Regions from separate parts of the Homo sapiens genome. Here region 2 is linked to region 1. Evidence: promoter capture Hi-C in 16 types of primary human blood cells and fetal thymus (Javierre and others, 2016). All regions are on one chromosome and are shown on one strand. Each heading gives the region's core, a stretch centred on a gene start or on the middle of the fragment in contact. The rest is flanking DNA. Distances are from core to core; before and after follow the strand shown.

The links. Contacts are between HindIII fragments. The CHiCAGO score rates a contact against its expected background, and 5 or more counts as called.
Region 2: a fragment that was not itself captured here is called in contact with the fragment with the promoter of SULT2A1 in region 1 in 1 of 17 cell types (M2 macrophages); the score reaches 5.0 in M2 macrophages.

Annotation. Positions count from the first base shown.
Region 1 is chr19:47,882,087-47,889,589 of GRCh38, forward strand. It overlaps SULT2A1 (sulfotransferase family 2A member 1), which reads right to left and starts at 4,229. Exons shown (of 6, transcript NM_003167.4): 1 at 4,036-4,229; 2 at 1,491-1,699; 3 at 1-124. The coding sequence starts at 4,171. The HindIII fragment of the contact is 7,780 bases long and covers 1-4,539 here.
Region 2 is chr19:48,089,281-48,096,506 of GRCh38, forward strand. It overlaps PLA2G4C (phospholipase A2 group IVC), which reads right to left. Exons shown (of 17, transcript NM_003706.3): 7 at 6,184-6,324; 8 at 1,084-1,137. Among named protein-coding and RNA genes, the nearest start is that of PLA2G4C, 18 kb to the right of the region's middle. The HindIII fragment of the contact is 3,587 bases long and covers 861-4,447 here.

The sequences.
Region 1 (7,503 bases), core at 2,979-5,478:
TTCCTTGACAAAACCATTCAAAATATTCTTCCCATGACTTTGGTTTCTTAATAAACTTCATGTTTTTCCAGAAAAAATAACCAGACACCAAAACATCTCTGGGATTTCTCATGAGATAAATCACCTTAAATGGAAAAACGGGAGAATGAAAAATCAATACAGTCAATCCTCACTCTTTTTGATCTTCACAAAAATGGAGAAAAAGCCAATTCCTGGATAATGCCTAATAATATCAATGGATTCTTTTAACAAATTACTTACTGCACTCACTAATCAAATTTGATGTGCCTATGAAGTAGTCACTGCACTAGGAATATATCAATGGAAGAAGGAAGCATCGTTCCTTCCCTCTGGGATATTACAGTCTGCTCACAATGGGAAGAACATGGAAGGTTTCCAAAGGTGAGTGATGTATATTTGTGTACTATGGTTTAAAGATCATTAACAGGAGAATGAATTCATAAATTAAGCTACATTCATAGATATATAGCAATATTATCCATATACAACACCCAAGATCATGGACACATTTCAGAGACATTACTTTGTCCTTTGGGCCAGGCATGGTGGCTCATGCCTGTAATCCTAGCACTTTGGGAGGCTGAATCACTCGAGGTCAGGAGTTCGAGACCAGCCTGGCCAACATAGTGAAACCCTGTGTCTACTAAAAATACAAAAATTAGCCAGGCATGGTGGCGCACACCTCTAGTCCTAGCTACTCAGGAGGCTGGAGCAGGAGAATCACTTGAACCTGGGGAGGTGGAGGTTGCAGTGAGCCAAGATCGCACCAATGCACTCCAGCCTGGGTGACAGAATGAGACTGTGTCTCAAAATAATAATAATAATAATAATTCACACACCTATAAACACCTTCCAGGAAAGTACAATTCTAGAAGCAGTCTGAGCCATGCAAGGTCCTGGATATGCCTTGTCCCTCTTGTGATCACCCCTCTGCCCCATGGGAGATGCATGTGGCTGCTGATATCAACACATATTTACACACAGTAAGACGAAGTGTGTACAGAGCCCAGTCCTGGCCCCGGGGCAGTCAACCTGGATACAGGCATTGATTGATGAACATGCTGCTTCCCATAGGAACACCTCTGTGTCTTTTCTGTGGCAGGAGGCATTTGTTGAATTCAGATTGGCTAATTATTTTTTAGGGCAACCAAAGGCGGTTATCTAGTATATAATATGGCTATACATTCTGATTGCACTTAGAACCTAGTTTTCTAAGATTCTGGGTTAGTGTTTTCACCCTATCCCTGGTTTAAATCTGGCTGGGGTAATCTGTGGAATGGTCTATATCCTTGAACTCAAGGACAGTTCTGGGAGCAGCCACATAGGTGTCACCTAATACGGAATCTCAGGTCTCAACAACACAGACCTGTTGAAGGAGAATGCATTTCAGCAAGATCTCCAGATGACTTATAGGCATATCAGTGTTTGAAAGGCACTGATCAAACACGTCTTAACCATTATGCACTGACCTTGGCCTTGGAACTGAAGAAAGACTTGGGGAATAACTGGATGGGGAGGTGGGAGGAGAATAAACGTGGACTCTCCGTTTCACTGAGTGCTGTATACCCAATCTCACTCTCTACCCAGGGTGATCGCTCCCAGATGGGCACAGATTGGATCCACTTGGCATCCCCCTTGGAGTGCATCAGGCAGAGAATCTCAGCCAACCAGTTTGTTCCTGGAAAAAGAAGGAAAAAAATATATAAAATGTACCATCTCAGCCGGACATGGTGGCTCACGCCTGTAATCCCAGCACTTTGGGAGGCTGAGGCAAGTGATCATGAGGTCAGGGGTTCCAGAATAGCCTGGCCAAGATGGTGAAACCCCGTCTCTACTAAAAATACAAAAATTAGCCAGGTATGGTGGCGGGCGCCTAAAATCCCAGCTACTTGGGAGGCTGAGGCAGAGAATTGCTTGAACCTGGGAGGCGGAGGTTGCGGTGAGCCGAGATCGTGCCATGGCACTCCAGCCTGGGCAACAGAGTGAGACTCAGTCTCAAAAAAAAAAACAAAAACAAAAACAAAAAAAAGTACCATCTCAACCTTAATTTTTTTATTATTTATTTATTTATTTATTTATTTTGAGACAGAGTCTTGCTCTGTCACCCAGGCTGGAGTGCAATGGCACGATCTCAGTTCACTGCAAGCTGTGCATCCCGGGTTCATGCCATTCTCCTGCCTCAGCCTCCCAAGTAGCTGGGACTACAGGCGCCCACCACCACGTCTGGCTAATTTTTTTTTTAATATATTTTTAGTAGAGATGGGGTTTCACCATGTTAGCCAGGATGGTCTCGATCTCCTGACCTCATGATCTGCCTGCCTCGGCCTCCCCAAGTGCTGGGATTACAGGCGTGAGCCACTGCGCCTGGCTTTTTTTTTTTTTTTTTTTAGCGATGAGGTCTCCCTCTGTAGCCCAGGCTAGAGTGCAGTGGTGCAATTATAGCCCACTGCAGCCTTGAACTCGGGCTCAAGTGATCCTTGTACTTCGGCCTCCTGCTTCAGCCTCGCAAGTATCTGAGACCTCAGGCATGTGCCATCGCGCTGGGCTAATTTTTTGAAAAAATTTTATTGTAGAGATCAGGCCTTGCTATGTTGCCCAGGCTGGTCTTGAACGCTTGACCTCAAGCAATCTGCCTATCTTGCCCTCCCAAAGCACTGGGACTGTAGGCGTGAGCCACTGCAGCCAGCTCTCAACCACTTTTTTTTTTTTTTTTTTTTTTTTTTGAGACAGAGTCTTGCTCTGTCACCCAGGCTGGAGTGCAGTGGCATGATCTTGGCTCACTGCCACCTCCATCTCCTGGGTTCAAGTGATTCTCTTGGTCAGCCTCCCGAGTAGCTGGAACTACAGACGTGCGCCACAGCGCCTGGCTAATTTTTTATTTTTAGTAGAGACGGGGTTTTGCCATGTTGGCCAGGCTGGTGTCGAACTCCTGACCTCAGGCAATCCACCTGCCTTGACCTCCCAAAGTGCTGGGATTACAGGTATGAGCCACCATGCCCAGCCTGTCAACCACTTTTAAGCCTACGGTTTCGTAGTGTTAAGTGTTAAGTATATTCCCAGTGCTGCTCAACCAATCTCCAGAGGATTTTTGTGTTGCAAAACCGAAACTCTATGCAGAGCCAGCACCGACTCCCCATTTACCCTTCTCTTCAGCCCCTGGCAGCCGCCAGTGTACTTTCTGTTTCTATGGACTTGATGACTCCAGGTACCTTATGTAAGTGGAATCACACACTATTTGTATTTTTGTGACTGGCTTATTTCATTTAGCATAATGTCCTTGATGTTTATCTCTGTTGTATCATGCATCAGAATTTTCTTCCTTCTCAAGGATGAATAACATTCCATTATAGCTATATACCACATTTTGTTTATTCACTCACCTGTCAGTGGATATCTGGGTTGCTTCCATCTTTTGGCTATTTGCTGAAATCCCTCTTATTATGTTCCCATTGCTCTTGGCCTCTCAGGGCCATGCCACTTCCAATGTCTTCAGCCTCAATCCTCACCGCATCCGCAGTGCTCTTACCGCCCTCCACCCACAGCCCCACTCCCAGAGACATATGATCCTCATCTTTCAGCCCCTTGAGATTGCCTGGCTCTTTTGTGGTTCCTGGCCATTGCCCTGATGATTCTCCTATCTGAAAATAGCCCTCCCCCCAAGTAATTTCATACTCATTCTTTGCATTTCCATTTAAATGCTATTTCTTCTTTCAGGACATCATTGGTCATCCTCAGCCATCCTCCCTCCCACTGCCACCAAACAAACACCTGAATTTGCCTTGGGATTCACTCCTGTGGATTCTCCTAATACCTTAGATTACCCCTCTGAACACTCATCCTACTGTGTAATTTCCTGACTAAATCCTTTTCTCTGATTGTCAATGGTATTAGGCATTCCTCTCTTCCCCTTAAAGCATTGTACACTGTCTGACATAAAGGAAGAACTCCAATCATGCACTGAATGGACAGGAACACAACCACAGCCTTTCTCAGTTCACGATTCTGCCTCCTTACCTGATTTGGGGTAAGTCAATATTATTACATCTTCATCCCTTATCACGAACTCATCACGTACTTTTCTTAAGGTTTCGGATCTGAAACCCATAGTAGGGAAAGCTATGCCTTCAAACCATAAGAAATCGTCCGACATGATGATGACCTCTTCCTGCGTGGTGTGAGGGTTTCAACTGTAGCCACCGCTGGAGGCTGTGGCAGCTACAGGCAGATCAGCTTTTACAGCAAGGATAAAACGATCTTTAACCTTGTCCCAGCATGTCACATGTTTGTTGTAAAGTTTACTTGCTGATAAAGAGAGGTATAATGTGACCCATACTCAAAAGATTGAAGATGTTGAGCAATCATGAACTTATCTAGAGACCATTTTAGGGGTCATCTGAGCTTGCGTTCCTGAGAGTGAACTGCAAGATCGAATAACAAACACGAGGACAAATATTTTTTTTGATAATATGGGTGAATTTATTTCTTAAGGTTTGAGTGCAAACTTAAAAACAAGAACAAAGCTTTTCATCAAGCATAAACACAAAATCTAAATAATCCTGCAATCGTGCATTTTAACAGAAAGTACAAATATGAATACATTATAATTTGTAACTGCATTTAAAAATTAAAATATGTCTCTCCAAATCCAAAAGACCACACAGTCTTTATCTGTTCTCATCTTGTTACCTTAGAAACATTTGTCATATGCTCTCAGGAAAATATAGGCAAGAATTACTAATCAGTTATTCACGATCAAAGAAACATTATTCTCCCTGAGACTTTTTGAATCATTTATCTGTATTTCTGAAGTATCACACAATTATACCTCCACTCTAGAGAAAAAAAGAGTAAGTACAAATATTAGCAGTGTATATATTGTAGTAAATTTTTAAAGTACAACTTTAGTTGATGGCTGACGTGTATGTAATAATTGTGAACAATTTAAACGGTATAAAAATGTGAGATGAAAATCTTTAGACTCAAATACTTGAAAAGTCACTATGAATATGGAAAGATTTGTTTGCATAAACATGTATGTTTTTAGATGGAAAATCAAGAGGTAGTGGCATCTCCCTGTTTCCTTAATAATATTTGGATTTTCACAAAGAATTGGCAGCACCCAACCTTAAGTGTTAATTATGTGTTTGTTTGTTTTTTTTTTTTTTTTGAGATGGAGTCTCACTCTGTCGTCCAGGCTGGAGTGTAGTGGCGCGATCTCGGCTTGCTGCAAGCTCTGCCTACTGGGTTCATGCCATTCTCCTGCCTCAGCCTCCAGAGTAGCTGGGACTACAGGTGCCCGCCACCACGCCCAGCTAATTTTTTGTATTTTTAGTAGAGACGGGGTTTCACCGTGTTAGCCAGGATGGTTTCAATCTCCTGACCTTGTGATCCGCCACGCCCAGCCTAATTATGTGTTTCTAAAGGACCTATACAACAGATCAGTTGGCAGTGTTCTAGCTTTAGGGAGATGGGGGTGGATTGGGGGTGCAAATATCTGAGATAAGATAATGCATGCACTCACACATTTAAAATCACCATTCTAAATGGGAAAAAAAAATCACATATTGGGAAAGTCCAAGAAACTCATTCTTAAGGGATAAACAGCAGGGCAGGAGCAAAAGCTGAATAGAAGTCTACTTGATAATAATGTTTTTTCACTCTTCAAAGGCAAGTTGGGAAGAATGAGAATACTCACATACACATAACTTCAGGGAAAACGTGCCTAGAATTTTACCTTGCAAAACACTGAACAGAAATCTTTACAAAAACCTTCATTCTTGGTCTGGGCACGGTGTGGTGGCTCACGCCTGTAATCCCAGCACTTTGGGAGGCCGAGGCGGGCGGATCACGAGGTCAGGAGATCGAGACCATCCTGGCTAACACGGTGAAACCCCGTCTCTACTAAAAATACAAAAAATTAGCCGGGCGTGGTGGCGGGTGCCTGTAGTCCCAGCTACTCAGGAGGCTGAGGCAGGAGAATGGCATGAACCCGGGAGGCGGAGCTTGCAGTGAGCCGAGATCTCGCCACTGCACTCCAGCCTGGGCGACAGAGCGAGACTCCGTCTCAAAAAAAAAAAAAAAAAAAAGGAAAGAAAAAAAGCCTTCATTCTTGTTTATAATACTTGATTTTTCCCTTATTACCACCCTGTACATCACATTTAAGTATTTTCTTTATAAATATTTTAGAGCAAAAAGAATTTATTTTGTTGCAATGGTGGCCCACATCTGTACAAAACAACCTAAACAAGATATATATGTATATATATATGCATATATATATGCGCATATATATATGCATATATATAAAATGATTAAGAAAAAGTGCAAAGAATAACAGTATTAAGAATTTTTGCATTTTATAGTAACTGTGGTTCAAGCGTGAATATCTATCAGCGATATATAATCCCAGGTTTTACTTTTTAATTTTATTTATTTATTTATTGTTTTGAGATGGACTCTTGCTCTTGTCACCCAGGTTAGAGTGCAATGGCATGATCTCGGGCTCACTGCAACCTCCGCCTGCTGGGTCCAAGCGATTCTCTTGCCTCAGCCTCCTGAGTAGCTGGGATTACAGGCGCCCACCACCACGCCTGGCTAATTTTTGTACTTTTAGTAGACATGGGGTTTCACCATGTTGGCCAGGCTGGTCTCAAACTCCTGACCTCGTGATCCACCCGCCTCGGCCTCCAAAAGTGCTGGGATTACAGGTGTGAGCTACTGCGCCCGGCCAATCCCAGGATTTAATTAAAGATTCAAAAACAAACCACACTCCAAATTACTGCACAAACATCGGTCCCTTATCAAGCAAGTCTGCCCTTCTCCTGAATCTAGTATTTCCAGTTTCTAAACTCTTCCCAAACAGGAAAAAAATATTTTTAATACGCCTCATTTTTTAGGGCACTTTTAGACTTACAGAAAAATTGCAAAGAGAGTACAGAGAGTTCCCATAGTCCATACTTAATTTGGATTTCCTTAGTTTTTATCTCATGCTCGTGTTTTTTTTTTTTTTTTTTGACAGAGTTCTCTCTTTGTTGCCCAGGCTGAAGTGCAGTGGCATGATCCTGGCTCACTGTCTCATGCCCTTTTTTTGCCCCAAAATCCCATCCTGTATAGTACATGACATACACTCATCCTGTCTCCTTGGGCTCCTCTTGGCTGTGACAGTTGTTGCTCAGACTTTCCTCATTTTTTTTTTTTTTGAGATGGAGTCTTGCTCTGCTGCCCAGGCTGGAGTGCAGTGGCACAATCTTGGCTCACTGCAGCCTCTGCCTCCCCAGTTCAAGTGATTCTCCTGCCTCAGCCTCACGAGTAGCTGGGATTACAGGCACGCGCCACTACACCCGGCTAATTTTTGCATTTTTAGTAGAAACGGGGTTTCACCATATTGGCCAGGCTGGTCTCGAACTCCTGACCTCAGGTGATCCGCCCACTTTGGCCTCCCAAAGTACTGGGATTACAGGTGCGAACCACTGCGCCTGGCCG
Region 2 (7,226 bases), core at 1,404-3,903, 210 kb after region 1:
GCCAGGCACGGTGGTGCGCGCCTGTAGTCCCAGTTACTCGGGAGGAGAGTTGCTTAAGCCTGGGAGGTGGAGGTTGCAGTGAACTGAGATCATACCACTGCACTCCAGCCTGGGCAACAGAGCAAAACTCTGTCTCAAAAAAACAAACAACAAAAAAAGTCAAAGTGTAAGAACTAGGACAGTGCCTGGCACACAGGAGGTCCCATGAATATACATTAAATGAATGACGAGTGGTTTAGGGTGTGAACTCAGTAATGATCCTAAAAATAAGATTAACATGTAATGAAACACTCCCATGTGTCAGGCTTGGCTCTAAGCATTTTACATACATGAGGTCATTTAAACCCCACATCAAATATACGAGACTGCGACTACGTACTATTGTCTCCATTTTAGGAAGGGGAAATTGGGTCACAGAGAATTTAAGCAGCTTTCCAGAGTGAGCAGTGCAGGAGAAGCAGAGCCGGGATGTGGATCCAGGCAGACAGGCTTTGGATCAGAACCACCACACTATTCCCCTAGAGATCCACCACCCAGTTCTCCTATAGATCCCCGCGTCTGCACTCACTGACCAGCAGTGTGGGTGAGTCACGCATCCTTCCCACGACTTGGTGGATCTCAGCAAAATGGAAGGGACAAAAGCGTCTGCCTCTTAGGGTATTAAAGGGGTTAAATGTTAAATGAGGGACCAGGTAATGATTGCTAATGTTTACTGAGTGCCGTTATCTACCAGGCACTGTCCTACAAGCTTTCAATGAATTAACTCATCAAATATTCATAACTACTGTTATTATCACCCGCATGGCACAGAGGCAGAAACCGAGGCACAGAGAGGTTAAGTAACTTTTCGGAGGTCACAAAGCTTACATGTACCAGAGCAACATTCCTTCCAAGGGAGTCTGTACTCTCATCCACTCTGTGGTCATCCTGGCTGCCCAATTATATGAGAATAAATGTCAGGAAAAGCAGTTGCTAGAACAATTACACACAGGTCTCTCTTCTGCCATGAGTAGGAAAAGTACTGTGAATCTCCTTGCATAAAATATCTCTAGGGTTTGACCTTTCTGTTCCCCAAATACTCACCAAAAATGTATTCCCTAATGACTTCAGTGTTACCAAGAGCACTTCCCCATAAACCTGCCAAGAAAAGAGCAATAAAATTCAAACATTCTCCATCACGTGACTGTCATGTTTGATATTCAAAGCACCAGCAGACTGGCATAAAGCACTGCAGGGATCTGCAGCAGGAAGAAAGATCTTTCTTCCATTCCATAAATATTTATGAAGCAATTAGTGGGCACCCGGCACTCTTCTGGCTGTTGGAATAGAGCAGTAAACAAGACAGATAAAGTCCTTGTCCTCACGAACCTTCTATGGGTGGAGCCAGCCGGGCACTGTAGACTGGCTACCCCAAGGCCATTTCAAGCTCCTGTCCATGCCAACCCTTCTCAGCACACAGGCAGGAAGGGCAAATATTTCCCAGCCTCCCTTGCAGCTAGGGGACGGTCAAGCTCTGGTCCATGCACACTGCTGGGGGGACTTCTGCAAAGTGCTTGTTCTCCTTCTCAGAAGGAGCAGGCCAGGTATGGTGGCATGCAACTCTAGTCTCAGCTACTTGGGAGGCTGAGGCAGGAAGATCACTTGAGGCCAGGAGTTCAAGACCTGTATTGGGCTATGACTGTGCTTTTGCACGGCAGCTTGAGTGACAGAGAGAGACCCTGACTTCAAAAAAAAAAAAAAAAGTTGCAGCTTCATTGGATGCAGCCGCCATCCCGTGGTGTGGAGGAGTTCAGCATGAGGGTGACTTAATATGCTAAGGATGGAGGAGCAGAAAATCTAGAATAAACCTGGGTCCTTCTGCTTAATGTTGCACAGCTAAACCAATGTCACCAGCCACCTAACTTTGTATTATTTATTTATTTTGAGATGGGATCTCGCTCTGTTGCCCAGGCTGGAGTGCAGTGGTGTGATCTCGGCTCACTGCAACCTCTGCCTCCCAGATTCAAGTGATTCTCCTGCTTCAGCCTCCCGACTAGCTGGGATTACAGGCATGCACCACCACGCCCTGCTAATTTTTGTATTTTTTAAGTAGAGACGGGGTTTCACCATGTTGGCCCGTCTGGTCTTGAACTCTTGACCTCAAGTGATCTGCCCGCCTCGGCCTCCCACAGTGCTGGGATTTCAGCTGTGAGTCACGGTGCTCAGTCTGTCTTTTTCTTTTGTAAGAAAATTAATCCCACATGTCCTCGGGGCACTGTGGTTGGTTAGTGACTTTTAGCCAAACACATTTGTATATGATACAGGGAGACATAAAAAATGAATAATCAGCCAGGCACGGTGGCTCACGCCTGTAATGCTAACACTTTGGGAGACTGAGGTGGGCGGATCAATTGAAGTCAGGAGTTTAAAGTCAGCCTGGCTAACATGGTGAAACCCTATCTCTACTAAAAAATACAAAAATTAGCCAGGCCTGGTGGTATGCACCTATAGTCCCAGCTACTTGGGAGGCTGAGGCAGGGGAATAACTTGAACCTGGGAGGTTGCAGTGAGCAGAGATCACACAACTGCACTCCAGCCTGGGAGACAGAGTGAGACTCCATCTCAAAAAAAAAAAAAAAAAAAAAAAAAATAGACACACCCATTAGGATGGCTGGTATCCAAAAAACCCCAGAAAACAATAAGTGTTGATGAGGACGTGGAGAAATTGGAAACCTGGGACACCATTGGGCAGAATATAAAATGGTACAGCCACTGTGGAAAATGGTATGGTCGTTCCTCAAAAAAAAAATTTTTTTTTTTTTTGAGATAGCCCAGGCTGGAGCGCAATGGCGCGATCTCCGCTCACTGCAGCTTCCGCCTCTCGAGATCAAGAGATTCTCCTGCCTCAGCCTCCTGAGTAACTGGAATTACAGGCATGCACCACCATGCCCGGCTAATTTTGTATTTTTTGTAGAGATGGGGTTTCACCATGTTGGTCAGGCTGGTCTCCAACTCCCAACCTCAGGTGATCCACCCGCCTCGGCCTCCCAAAGTGCTGGGATTACAGGCATTAGCCACCACACCTGGCCTCAAAATTTTAAAAGTAGAATTACCACATACATGATCCAGCAATTCTACCTCTGAGTATATACCCAAAAGAATTGAAAGCAGGGTCTCAAAGAGATATTCATAGACCCATGTGCATGGCAGGTTCCTTCACAACAGCCAAAAGGTGAAAGCAATCCATGTGTCCATCGATGGATGAATTGATAAGCAAAATGTGGTATATTCGTACAATGGAATATGATTCAGCCATAAAAAGAAAGGAAATTCAGACACATGGTACAACATGGATGAACTTCGAAGTCATTTTCCTCAGTGAAATCAGACAGACACAAAAAGACAAGCACTGCATGATTCCATTTACATGTCATACTCAGAGTAGTCAAAATCGTAGAGGCAGAAGGTAGCATTGTGGTTGTCAGGGGCTAAGGGAGGGGGTGACAGGGACTTAGTATTCAATGGGCGTAGAGTTCCAGTTTTACAAGATGAAAAGTGTTATGGAGATGGATGGCAGTGATGGTTGCACAACATTATGAATGTATTGTATTTATACCACTGTACTTGACACTTTAAAATGGTTAAAATGGCAAATTTTATGTTATGTTTATTTTATAATAATAAATAAAAAGCACCCTGGTGTGTGAGGGGAGGGATAAAATACACGTACAGAATCCCTTCAGTAGGTGATACATACATCTAAGGAAATAATAATGTTATAGGGAGTACCTGGGAGTGACAATTTCAAAATCTCTGATGCCCAAGACCAGATTTAGCAAAGAGATGGTGGGGATAGGAGACAGGAGCCAGGCTTGGCAATGTGAAGGACCCCGTCTGTCCAGACCAGAGAAAAGGGGAAGATCCCCTTCATCCTACCTTGTTCTCCTCCCCTGAGAACACCCCTCCATCTACCAGGTTGCAGAAGCTGGAACCTTTGATGTCATCTCTGATTCTCCTTACTCTCCACATCCAATCCAGGTGTAATTCTTCTTCATCCATCTCCAGGTTTCCAGAGTCCATCCACTTCCCTCCCATATCCATTCTGGTACCCAACCTTAAACTGCCATTATCTGTCACCAGGACCATTAGCTTCTCAACTGCTCCCAACTTCTAAGTTTACACACCCACCCCTAATCCATGCTCAGAGAGAGAGAGAGAGAGTGAGATGTTTTACCATATAAACTGAATCGGTCACCACCCTAATTAAACTGCCTCCCTGGCTCTCCTATCGCACTTGGAATCCAAACTAAACTTCATCTGTGTCCTTCAGGGTCCCATATGATCTGGACCCTGCCTACCTCTCTAGCCCTCTCTCTCAGCCTCATTCAGGAGGCTCCAGCCTCACTGGTCTTCTCATTGGTTCTAGAGTAAGACAAACTTGGTCCTGGCTTAGGGTCTGATATGGTTAAGCTTTATGTCCCCACCCAAATCTCTCGAGTTGTAATCCCCAGATGTTGAGGGAGAGACCTGGTGGGAGGTAATCAGATCATGGGGGCAGATCCCCCCATGCTGTACTCGTGATAGCGAGTGAGTTCTCACGAGATCTGATGGTTTGATAAGTGTTGGGCAGCTCTTCTTTGGCTTGCTCTTCTCTCTCCTGCTACCACTTGAAGAAGGTTCTTTCTTCCCTTTCACCTTCTGCCATGATTGTAAGTTTCCTGAGGCCTCCCCAGCCATGTGAAACTGTGAGTCAATTAAACCTCCTTTGTCTACAAATTACCCAGTCTCGGGTAGTATCTTTATAGTAGTATGAAAACGGACTAATACAGGGTCTCTGCATTTGCTCTTCCCTCTGTCCATGATGCTTTTCCTCTAAGATATCTGCATGGCTTCACTTTTCATCAGGTCCATGCTCAAAGGCCATCTCCTGTCAGAAGCTCTGACCACCAATTAAAAATAATACTGTAGTCACTCTCCAGTCCCTTACCATGAATTATTTTTCAAGATAGCATTTACTATGATCTGACATTATAATACATACTTATTTTTGTGTGTGTTCATTCATCATCTCCTTCCCTGGAGTGCAAACTTCATTAGGGAATGAGCCTTCACTGTCCTGCTCATGACTGAATCCCCTGCATTTAAAATAGTATCAGGCTCCTAGTGTGTCTCAAAAGTGTATGCTAAAATCATGGAGAGTCAACCATCCTTAATTTCCTACCATGTGCTGGACACTGGGCTGAGTGTTTTATTTGTGGATCATACCTAACTCTCACACCCACATTTTGAGGTAAGTACTTTCCCTATGAGAAAAACGAGGCTCAGGTAACATTAATGACTTTCTCAAGCTGGCATGGTTGGTCCTATGTAGGGGAGCTGTCTGCCCAGCAGGGTAATGCCTTCAGACCCTGAATGCTGAGAAGATTATGAAGCCACAACTAAAAGTGATACCAGTGTGTAAGCTACAGTCAAGGACATTTAATCAAGTTCTGATTTTACTCACTATGACTGTTTTGTTTTTGGTTTTTGTTGTAATTTTTTCTGGAAATACCCCATTTAAAAAAAATTGTATGCCCCTTGCTTTGCTGGTGCCCAAAACACATTCTAGTTTTTTGTTTGTTTGTTTGTTTGTTTGTTTGTTTTGAGACAAGATCTTTCTCTGTCATCCAGGCTGGAGTGCAGTGGGGCGATCATAACTCACTGCAGCCTTGAACTCCCATGCTGAAGTGATCCTTCCACTGCCTCAGCCTCCTGAGTAGCTGGGACCACAGGCACATGCCACAATGCCTGGCTAATTTTTAAATCTTGTGTAGAGACACAGTGTTGCTATGTTGCCGAGGTTGGTCTCAAACTCCCAGTCTCAAGGGATCCTCCCAGGTCAGCCTCCCAAAGCACCATGTAATCCCAAACACATTCTGAATCTGCTTATTGGAAGCCACAGCCCTGGACTTGAGCCCCTCTATTAAGCTCCCTCTCCTGGATTGTTTGATAGGATATCAGGTATCTGCCGCATTAAGGAGACCTTTGAGAGACACTGAAGACTCAGCAGAAGGAATACACCATTCCTCTTTCTGGAAGCCTACCAAGTCCTTTTCTTTCCCCCAAGAAATTTAAGAGCTGGGCAAACTAGACCCTCAGAAGGAAAATTCTTGCCTCTCCTCCACTTCCCACCCCCTTTTAATCCCCTCTGACCCCAGCGCTGACCTCTCAGGAAAGTCAGGTCTCTCTCAGGGTGAGTTCTGACCAGTCTTCCCTTCTTGAATTTGCTTCCGAAGTGGGTTATGGAAACAAAGGCCCCCAGTGCAGAGAAGCCAGCGTGGTGAGGGGTGAACTCGAACCAGGTCTCTGCAGAGGAAATACAACGGCAAGTGAGTCCCAGCACAGAACCAGGAATGTAGCAGGTATGCAGGAAAAAGAAATCTATTAATGAGGAATTACAACCATGACAGGAGAATGTTAGAGATGGACTGTGTGGTATCAGAAACCACTGGGGATCTCATCCTCAGACCTGAGTCTACGCTGCTGGTGGCAGCTCATAACTTCCACAGCAGCCTGTTTCCAATATTTTCCAGAGCTTGAACCCTCAGCCCTGCCTCTCTCTTCCATCTCATTGTGGCTGCAACTCCATGGAATCCTGGAGTGCAAGGGAAGAGTGTAGCCACACGATTGCATGGAGGATTGTCTGTGGGCATAAATCTAATGCATGATTCCAATGTGAGTCATTAGAATATTCCAGGGAAGAAAATGACATGATCAGATTTTCATCCTGGAAACTTCCATCAGGTAGCCAGGGAAGGAGGTGGACAGCTTGGGATGGGCGGGCCAGTGAGGAACTAATTACAAGAGTCTCCCAGGAGACTGGGAGACCTGGTCTGGGGATGATGTAGAAGAGCACAAAGGATGAAAATGAGGAGGGGGTGATTTCTAGGTCTGGGAATGACTGAATTTGTGGGGCTTATGGAAAGGACGGAGTCAGCTGTATCTGCTCTGGTGAGAAAACAGCACAAGGATCCACACCGAGGAGAGAGATAAAACATTCATGGCCGGGCGTGGTGGCTCACGTCTGTAATCCCAGCACTTTGGGAGGCGGAGGTGAGTGGATCACCTAAGGTCAGGAGTTCGAGACCAGCCTGATTAACATGGTGACACCCCATCCCTACTAAAAATACAAAAATTAGCCAGGCGTGGTGGTGCATGCCTATAATCCCAGCTACTTGGGAGGCTGAGGCAGGAGAATCACTTGAACC